3 separate regions of the Homo sapiens genome follow, and all the other regions are linked to region 1. Evidence: promoter capture Hi-C in 16 types of primary human blood cells and fetal thymus (Javierre and others, 2016). All regions are on one chromosome and are shown on one strand. The core of a region is centred on a gene start or on the middle of the fragment in contact, and the rest is flanking DNA. Distances in the headings are between cores, read along the strand shown. Region 1 holds the start of SEC24D (SEC24 homolog D, COPII component). Region 2 overlaps MAD2L1-DT (MAD2L1 divergent transcript). Region 3 overlaps MAD2L1 (mitotic arrest deficient 2 like 1).

Region 1 (3,425 bases), core at 554-3,053:
GCCAGGATGGTCTACGATCTCCTGACCTCGTGATCCGCCCGCCTCGGCCTCCCAAAGTGCTGTGATTACGGGCGTGAGCCACCGCGCCCGGCCAAGTCCCTTCCAGCTTTAACATTTAGGAATTAAAAACTGTTTTAGAATTGAAACCACAAATTGTCCTGGTTTCAGACAAGTTTGGTACCTGAGCAGGAGGTGAGGATGTATTTACAATTCAAAAGTAGTGGTTTTATAGGGGTAACAAGTCAAGCAGGTCATCACATGGTGTGACTGTTTCTGACTTTACTCTCTCCTATCTTTGTATCATAGCTTCACTCGCTCCTTGTAATGTAGCTGTTATATGACAAGTTCTTTCACTGCTTTTACAAGCTGTACTGCTTCAACACCGGCCAAAACTTCCTAAACTTCCACTGAACATTTTCATCACATTGAGAATACAAGAAACAATTTAAAACAAAAATTTCAATGTGGGTTTTCAAACCTGATCAGTGTTGAAGCTGGATGTAGGCCAGATATCTTACCTTAAAATCTTTTTTTCTTTTTCTTGAGACAGGGTCTCACTCTGTTGCCCACGCTGGAACGCAGTGGTGTGATCATAGCTCACTGCCTCCTGGCCTCAAGCAATCCTCCCTGCTTGGCCTCCCAAAGTGCTGGGATAACAGGTGTGAGCCACTGTGCCTTGCCCCATGCCTTAAAAACTTTTAAGAGTGGGATAAATGGACCATATATCTTTACTGCTAAAATGACTTAAAATTCCTGCACAATTCATGTAGCATTTCGGGAGTAGCAACATCCCCATGTACGTTTTTACCTAGGCAGTTCATCAGTAAAGGTATTTGTCAAGTGGCTTTCTTGTAGCCGGGAAGAAAGTGCATGTTAAAAACAACAACACCGGGCTGGTTTTTACTTTGTAAGTTTGAGCAAAGTGGTAGCTATACCAAACCTGGGAGTGGCTGAATGTCTTTCTATTTAGCAGTGAAAGATGATAGGAAACCAGCCAGATGGTCCTGATTTTAGGGTGAGATAGAGAGGTAAGCTCCAGATCTCATATAGGTTGCCTTTATTTCTGAGCTGTTTCTCACAGGACGGTGAGCTAAACGCTGGGTGCTTTTCCATGCAGAGATTCCTGTTTGGGGCTGGGATCAGCCATCCTACTTCACAAACAAGGAATATGCGGAAGAAGGAGTATACACAACGCTAACAACCCCAATATCAATGGAAACCCCACTTCCCACACTTTTCCTTTGGGACATCTCCCCCACCCCCCACTCCTCCCGCGTTACACGTTGCCAGGCTGCTTTGGGCGTTCCTTCCTCTGTAGTGCATTGCACGGGTACGTCATCAAATGTGCGTGTACACGTGCCAGATTCGCCTTTAAACGGTAATCTCCCCTAGGTCCAGATCGTGTACTTTCCCGTATGTAACGGTAGTGCAGTACCTGAACTATTAGTTATTTAAGTAATACGTAATGAATGAAGAGCTGAAACTGCAACCTGTTGATGGAAGAATGAATGAACGCGCTCCCCTCCTTCCTGCGGGGCTGCGCCGAGAAAATACGGTTCTGATTTAGCCACGACGTTAAAGGCTTTGACCTGTAGGGGGAGGGGAAAGAAAAGACGGGAAAAAGAAAACCAAAAAACAAAAAACCGGAAAAAGGGAAAAAGCGAAAAGGGGGAGGTCGCTCGGCCGCTCGCAGGCTCAGCCCGGTGGCCCCGCCCCGCGGCGGCCGGTGGCTGTGCGCGTGCGCAGGCGGGAGCGCGGCGGCTGGTCCAAGCCCGGCGCTGGGGGCGCGCAGCCGAGAAAGGGTTTGACGTGGCAGTTCCCAGCCCAGCTGCAACTCCGAGCGTGAGTCCAGGCTAAGGGGACGCCGGCCGGGGAAGAGGCGCGGCGGGAGAAGCGACCGCAGCGGGAGCCCGGCCACCGAGGGCTGCCGGCACTAGGCGCAGAGCCGCCAGCGCTCGGAAGCCCGCGGGGTGCGGGAGCGGGAACAGGTAAAGCCTCCCACCCGCGGACGCCTTCATGCGGGACAGCCCTGCCCAGGCACAGCGGAGCGGGTTGCGGCGCCCGGCCCGGGGACGCGGCGGGAGGCCGGGTGCTCACCTGAGGCAGTGGCGGCGGGAGGAGAACTCATTCTTTGTTCTTTAGCCTTCTAGTGCAGTTTAATAGTGGGGCCGGCGGGATGGGGGAGCAGGAGGTGGGCGTGGGCATTTTTTACCCGCCCCCACCTTTTGCCTTGGGATGCAGGAACTGCCTTGTTAGGATCCTCAGTGGCCACCATTCGAGTGTCATTGCCAGCGGTTTTCTCATCTCCTTATCAACTTAATTTCCTTTTTTGAAGGAAGGAAATGTTAGAAATATTCATGGTAAAAATGGCAACTATATCTTGAAGCCTCGGGACATCCGAATAGTGAAACTGATCTGGCCAAATACGAACTTGTTCCAGGGTTAGAAGTGCACCTTGGCTAGAGTTGCTGGGTGACAGTGAGCCAGGGGGCCGTTCTGGGGTTGGGGCTCCCCAGATTTTGATCCTAGGCCTGCTTATACCAAGTGGCTTTCTGCCGTGTCGCCGCTTGAAGCTGAGTCAGGTTTCTTTAACTTGGTGCTCTGTGTGAGGAAGTTTGACGTGGCAAACTGGGTTGCGTGAGGAAGCTGATTCCTCTGAGGACCAGTTCAGAGGGAACTGGCTGCTTCCTGTTCTTTGGAGTGACCATCTCAGCCTCTCTTTTCTGTCACTCAGCAACAGGCTGCTACTTAGGTGTGTTCGTGCCGACTTCCTAAGTGCTCTTGGTTGGATGAGCTTGACCAGCGCTCAGGCTGCCACGTCTCTCTCTGCTAAGTGGGAGGAGGAAAAAGGGGTTGTCAGAAACAAAGTGGACCAGAAGGCCTTTGCCTGCCTCTCTCCTCTTTTTCAGTTCTCCCCTTCCCAGGAGAAGGAAATGATCTCATAATATTTTTACATGGTTGCTTTTATTTTGGAAACTTATAGTTTAATATGGAAACAAAATCAAATCACAAATTTTAGGCTTCAAATTTTTAATTTGAAATGTTATTTCTTGAATATAGACAGATTCTAAGTCTTAGCAGGTATCACTGATCTCTTATCTTAAATTGTAGCAAATAAAAGAACAAAAGGAAGAATATGCTTGTATGGGGCAAATAAACTGGAGATAAATTGTAGAATCAGTGGAAATCTGGAAAGGCTTCATTTTCTAAAAGAAGGAACTGAGGCTTAGAGAGGTTCTTCAGCTCATTCCATGTCACACAGTTAAGTATGGCAGACATAGAATGGAAACCCACTTCTCTTGCATTCAAAGCATTTTCTGTCGTATTTAATTTTTTTTTTTAAATCATCAGTCCTATGAAATATCTCTTATTTTGTTAAAACCTGGAAAAAATAGAAAATTTAAAGCAAATTTGGGTTCTGATTA
Region 2 (3,425 bases), core at 678-3,177, 1.2 Mb before region 1:
TTAGCCTTACTTCCAAACTCCTTGTAAAAGACTTTTATACCCTACCGTGTGACCCAAATTGTCTCCTCTTAGTTCACCAAAAATCTTTCAAGTACAAAATCTGTGACTCTTCCTCAGTCATTCTTATTTGTGCTGAATTATTTACTAAACTACTAAAATAGTATTTTTCTACCTAATCCAAATTCACTAAATAGGTTCTGACATTCCTCTCACAATTTGCCTCCTACTTTTCCATTTCTTCTGAGTTTCCTTCACTGCCTCTTCTTCCTCAATGTGTCATTTTATTAGCTATTACCTCAAAAAAAATTTTTTTTTTTTGCCTGGCCTAAAACCACTTGAAGGAAAATGAATCGAATGCCACAAACTTATCTATATCATCTCCATGTATAACAGCTCCACACCATGATCCCCCAAAACCCAGGCTGTTCTTCAGAGTACAACCAAACACATCTCAACACATTTTTAAAATGTCTCTCAAATTTGTCATCTTTTTACATTCCTGCTGTATTGCATATTCTCATTTCCTTTTGTCTGAGCTATCAATAAAATTGGCAGGACAAAGAGTAGGCTATTTCAAATGCCATTCTATCCCTTGGCCAGAATATTTGTTTAATGCCTCCTCTTAGTTCACTGAAGATCTTTTAAGTAGAAAATTGACAAGATCTTTTAAGCACAAAATTTTTAAAAAATTCCTGTTTTTGCAGCCCTAGTCAGGGTACCCCTTTTGGCCATCCACTCTTAGCCAGATGAGCCAGTATTGCACCCTGGATCCTACCTCTTGTTTCTTTTCCTCCAGTTTTGGACTCTTTTCTTCCACTTTTGGATTATTTTCCTTGTTCCAATTCTGTGACTTTCCAGCCATTCAGCTCCATTGGTTTCCATTGCTGAATGGGTCTCAGGAGTTACATAGCAAGGATGGAGGAATATTAAGGACCCACTATAGTTTGCCTCAAATTAGAGTTATCTAAAATATAGTCAGATCTTTGATGCTTTCAGGATTCATATTCTGGTACCATCTAGATTGCTTGGATTTGACTCCAGTTCTCCTAGCTGGGTGACCTTAGCTAAATTATTCAACTTCCTTCTGTAACTTAATTCAGGTAATAGTAGTATCTAACTCTTGAGCTAATGAGGGATTAAATAAAATGATTCTTGTAAAGCACATAGAAATGTGCCTGGCAGATAGTATGTGGTTAATAATGTTGGCTATCATTATTATATATGTTATAAGAGTTTCTATCTCATCTGTGCCTTAAGTTGTATTATCTAAAGCCTCCTTTAGTTATGCTAAACTAAACATGTACCAACCCAGGAAAGGTGCGTGGAAAAGTGGTGAAAAGCTGTCTTATTAACAACAACAGTAACAATATAATAATAAAACAATAACAATAACATATTAGCATTAAGCCAAAGCTTCATTTAAATTATCTCATGTAATACTCAGAAAAATTATATGTGACAAGTACTATTGTTACATCCATTTTACCGATAAGGAAAATAACTCCTATATAATTCTTCTTAAATTGTCCAGATAGTCTGCTTCTAAGAAGTTTCTCTGGAACATGCTAGGCTAACATCTTTTTTTGACATATCTGCATGTGATCTCTGCTGTTGGTAGATTGCTTGGAGATTCCTGCTTCTTTTAGACAAGACCATGACACTCCCTCATTATGCAACCAGTAATAAAGTTTTTTTTTTTTATGTGATCTAAGTGGACTTTTATGACAGGATTTGTTGAAACCCCTAAGATGGCTTTTATTCTGTGCTTTGGGCAGTGGTAAATAGATGGGGTTCAAGAGTCTGGAGCACTCCTTCCCAATAAGAATGTATTTTCCTTACAGGATTGTTCTGCAAAGTCCATTATAAAGAATGATAGCTCACGCCGGGCATGGCGGCTCACACTTGTAATCCCAGCACTTTGGGAGGTCAAGGTGGGTGAATCACTTGAGGCCAGGAGTGCAAGACCATCGAAACCTTGTCTCCACTAAAAAATACAACAATTAGCTGGGTGTGATGGTGCATGCATGTAATCCCAGCTACACAGGAGGCTGAGGAATAAGGATCACTTGAACCTGAGAGGCGATGATTGCAGTGAGCTGAGATGGTGCCACCACGCTCCAGCCTGGGTGAAAGAGCAAGACTCTGTCTCAGAAAAAAAAAAAAAAAAAAAAGAATGATACTTCAAATTTCCACATAGGCATGCAGGTCAGCCATCCTAACTAGGTCTATTCCATATTTACCTAGAAGAGAGGACAAGCACGGAACACTACTATTCCCAACTCAGGTGCCTCATCCCCTAATCAATAAGGTTTCTGCAAACATCCTCAAAATCAGTGGCTTCCAAAGTGGAATATATGCAAAAAACAATCCTTTTGGGAGTATAGGAAGGAATGTTACAACTTCTATTTAATTTATGTTTTAACCTAGGAAAATAAGCTTTACTAAAAAAATGGATTTCAAAAAATGGACTGACATTGCACACTCACACAGTCTCCATGTCAGAAGGTCACGTTCTTACTCATATGTGGAAGTTAAAAAAGTTGATCCCACAGAAGTAAAAAGTACAACAGAGAATACTAGAGGCTGGGAAGGGTAGGCGGAAAGAGAGGACAGAGAGATTTGTTAAAGGAAACAAAATTACAGCTAGATAAGAGTAAGTTCTAGTGTTCTACAGCACTTGTAGGATGACTACATCCTACAAGTTAATAATAGTTTAAAATAGCTAGAATGGGGATATTGAATGTTTGAAACACAAAGAAATTATAAATGTTTAAGATGATAGATAGGCTGATTACCCTGATCTGATCACTATACATTGTATAGACCACAACATCACTATGCACCCTGTAAATATGTACAATTATTATTTGTCAGTTTTAAAAATTTAGAAAAAAAAGGGAGTCATAGGCCATGATTGGTACCCTGAGGAAATGCAAGTCAGCTGTGCCAGATTTACTGGCTCTTTCTCTTTGCAGTACTGTGCTAACAAGAACTTCAGAAAAATTAACATTCTTCCATTCCGTTTTTCAAAAGACACTCATGTTATGGAAGGAGCACGTTTGAATAAACTTTTTTTTTTTTTTGAGATGGAGTCTCGCTCTGTCACCCAGGTTGGAATGCAGTGGCACGATCTCAGCTCACTGCAAGCTCCAGCTCCCGGGTTCATGCCATTCTCCTGCCTCAGCCTCCTGAGTAGCTGGGACTACAGGTGCCCGCCACCACACCCGGCTAATTTTTTGTATTTTTTTTTTTTTTACAGGGTTTCACTGTGTTAGCCAGGATGGTCTCAATCTCCTGACCTCGTCATCCGCCCTCCTCAGCCTCCCAAAGTGCTGGGATTACAGGCATGAGCCACCGCACCTGGCCTGGATAAACTATTTTTTAAAAAAGTCTCATCTGTACAATTGAAAAGTTTGGAAACAGAG
Region 3 (3,425 bases), core at 451-2,950, 1.2 Mb before region 1:
GGTGAGGTCCTGGAAAGATGGCAGTTTGATATTGAGTGTGACAAGACTGCAAAAGATGACAGGTAAATAGGAATTACATTATTTCTACTTTGATATATTTTTTTTCAAAACTTGTTTTTATTACTAATTGAGTTCTAATTGTATTGAACTAGTTTTATATAAAATATAGTTTGTTTCTAATTTATATTTTCTAAGATATCCTCAGTCACCTATGGAAAAGAATTGTGCTCAGTTTAGCATATCATTGATTTGTATATATAATATAATTTTAACATAATTGCCTTTAGTCTAAATCAGTAGTTTTCAAACAGTATTTATGGTGATATATACAAAACTACACATGATATACTAGATGAACCATTTAATAATTGTTCTAAGATATTTTTAACTATAAGGAATGATATTAGACTCACACAATTTAAGATGTAGCTCTGCTGTACTTCCTTTAATGCCATCTACTTCCTAAGACACTTCATAAATTTCTGAAGGTTCCAGACTCCCTGGAAGAGAAATGCATTGTCCTAGGCATGCTCTTCTATAAACTGAGAACCATTTCTTATAGTGAAATGTAGTTTGCTTCTGAAGGCTTTGGTGTATTTTAGGAAATTTTTAGCTTATAAAATAATTTGATATACAATTTAATGTTTTATTTGAGAAAATAGGAAATTAGACATTTAGGCATTACTAAAAATGCTGAAATGATTATACCAATACATATTTTAGATATCACTTATTTTTATTTCAAGAGATGCTGAAGTTTCCTGAACTTGAAGTGATTGGCAAATTTTCTAGTCATCTGATACTAAATGACCTGACACTAAGACCAGCTCTAAAAGATGACTGGCAGGATAAATGAAGTAATAAGGATGAATGTTGTGCCTACTAGGTTGTAGGTCTGAAGGATACTTTCACTCACATTTTTTACAAACCTCCTTTCTCAAATAAGCCCTGCTTATTTGATGTTGAGAGCATTTAATCAGATAAATAATCTAACCACTATGTTTGAAATAATTTGTTAAGACCTGAAATGAATTAATTGATTTGATTTTTTTTTGACAGTGCACCCAGAGAAAAGTCTCAGAAAGCTATCCAGGATGAAATCCGTTCAGTGATCAGACAGATCACAGCTACGGTGACATTTCTGCCACTGTTGGAAGTTTCTTGTAAGTATTATACAACTTCTTGTTGAATTAAATTGATTGGCAAAAAGACTAAGCTACTGCCGTAATCACCCCTTTATTAAATTTTGTCTTATTTATCAGATTTATGTAATATAAATTGAAGGAAAAACATTATCATGCAAAAGTAATGTATCGTAGTCTCCCTTTCCACAGGGAGACCCACAGTGAATACCTGAAACCATGGATAGTATGAACCCTATATAATGTTTTTTTCTTATGCATACATACCTATGATAAAATTTAATATGTAAATTAAGCATAGTAAGAGTTAATAATAAACTGGAACAATTATAACAATATGCTGGCATCACTATTCTTGTGCTTTGGGACCATTATTAAATAAGATAAGGGTTACTTGAACACAATCACTAAATTGCACGGAAGTTAGATACAATATTTTCTTTACTGAAATAAATGTTCATTGAGCAAAATAAATTAACTAGTGATTGGAGACCAAGCCAAATGACCTTTTCCAGCAGTGAGTGGTTCAAAATAGAAGAGAGGCAGCAAGATTAGTTTTACTTTTAGAAAATAATATACTTCAATGATCTTATCCCCAATTTAGGTTCATTTGATCTGCTGATTTATACAGACAAAGATTTGGTTGTACCTGAAAAATGGGAAGAGTCGGGACCACAGTTTATTACCAATTCTGAGGAAGTCCGCCTTCGTTCATTTACTACTACAATCCACAAAGTAAATAGCATGGTGGCCTACAAAATTCCTGTCAATGACTGAGGATGACATGAGGAAAATAATGTAATTGTAATTTTGAAATGTGGTTTTCCTGAAATCAAGTCATCTATAGTTGATATGTTTTATTTCATTGGTTAATTTTTACATGGAGAAAACCAAAATGATACTTACTGAACTGTGTGTAATTGTTCCTTTTATTTTTTTGGTACCTATTTGACTTACCATGGAGTTAACATCATGAATTTATTGCACATTGTTCAAAAGGAACCAGGAGGTTTTTTTGTCAACATTGTGATGTATATTCCTTTGAAGATAGTAACTGTAGATGGAAAAACTTGTGCTATAAAGCTAGATGCTTTCCTAAATCAGATGTTTTGGTCAAGTAGTTTGACTCAGTATAGGTAGGGAGATATTTAAGTATAAAATACAACAAAGGAAGTCTAAATATTCAGAATCTTTGTTAAGGTCCTGAAAGTAACTCATAATCTATAAACAATGAAATATTGCTGTATAGCTCCTTTTGACCTTCATTTCATGTATAGTTTTCCCTATTGAATCAGTTTCCAATTATTTGACTTTAATTTATGTAACTTGAACCTATGAAGCAATGGATATTTGTACTGTTTAATGTTCTGTGATACAGAACTCTTAAAAATGTTTTTTCATGTGTTTTATAAAATCAAGTTTTAAGTGAAAGTGAGGAAATAAAGTTAAGTTTGTTTTAAATTTGTCTTAAAACATTTTGATACTGGTTTGGTGTTGATATAGTTAAATGGTAATTAGAATTGATTCAGCATAGCTAATGAATTCTTGTTCCTACGAAGTTATAGAACTTAAGGGTCCAAAGTTGAGTGAGTCTTGAGGTGTCTTCAATCTAATGGATAAACTTTGATCACATCCTGTTCATCTCATAGCAATAGACTTAAGGCTATTACTTCATCATTGTGAAAAGATAAATGTCCTTTGGAATTAGTCCAACAATTCCAGTTGAACAAGTGTTGATTTTAGTACTTTACTATACTCTTAGCCTTATTGTCAGCCTACTTTTCCTTATATACTTAAATACTATGCTTATTCCTGTGCTTTCATTAATACCCTCATCTGGTACATGCTTTCTATCCAGTTCTCACCTGTTTTTCCAAGGTCAGTTTAAGGCAGATTTGTAAAGTCTTCTCTAATCTCTAATCTAAATCTGACCTCATTTTGTAAAAATTCAGTTTATTAATGTTTATTATTAGACACTAAGTTCTTTATGTGTATTAACTTATTTAACCTTCACTATTTTTAAGTAATTGCACATAGTCTGAATCTGTTCATTCAGAAATTACATATTGAGCAAATACTGTGGATCAGTGGCAGTTTCTGGGTTCTCAGTGACAAATTTGTAGACTCTTCATATCTTTATGGAATAAGTGGACCACTGGTGTTACCAACCTAGATGATTTCAAGAAAAGTGGCAATTAAATGCTTCATTTGTATTTTAACTATTTGAGAAGTCAGACTAAATTCTGCGAAATCACTTTTCCCCCCCAAGATGGAGTCTTATTC

What was found. The method cuts DNA at HindIII sites, captures the fragments that hold promoters and counts their contacts. A CHiCAGO score of 5 or more calls a contact.
Region 2: a contact is called between a fragment that was not itself captured here and the fragment with the promoter of SEC24D in region 1, in 6 of 17 cell types (total B cells, naive B cells, total CD8 T cells and 3 more). The highest score is 14.5, in total B cells.
Region 3: a fragment that was not itself captured here is called in contact with the fragment with the promoter of SEC24D in region 1 in 10 of 17 cell types (naive CD8 T cells, naive B cells, total B cells and 7 more); the score reaches 11.0 in naive CD8 T cells.

What each region holds. Positions count from the first base shown.
Region 1 is chr4:118,834,504-118,837,928 of GRCh38, reverse strand. It overlaps SEC24D (SEC24 homolog D, COPII component), which reads left to right and starts at 1,803. Exons shown (of 23, transcript NM_014822.4): 1 at 1,803-1,988. RefSeq lists enhancers at 1,641-1,935, 1,556-2,447 and a silencer at 1,640-2,129. The HindIII fragment of the contact is 6,235 bases long and covers 1-3,425 here.
Region 2 is chr4:120,075,472-120,078,896 of GRCh38, reverse strand. The region is part of intron 1 of MAD2L1-DT (MAD2L1 divergent transcript); the gene reads right to left. Among named protein-coding and RNA genes, the nearest start is that of MAD2L1-DT, 10 kb to the right of the region's middle. The HindIII fragment of the contact is 1,023 bases long and covers 1,416-2,438 here.
Region 3 is chr4:120,058,612-120,062,036 of GRCh38, reverse strand. It overlaps MAD2L1 (mitotic arrest deficient 2 like 1), which reads left to right. Exons shown (of 5, transcript NM_002358.4): 3 at 1-62; 4 at 1,060-1,163; 5 at 1,747-3,425. The coding sequence ends at 1,919. Among named protein-coding and RNA genes, the nearest start is that of MAD2L1, 6.5 kb to the left of the region's middle. The HindIII fragment of the contact is 5,099 bases long and covers 1-3,425 here.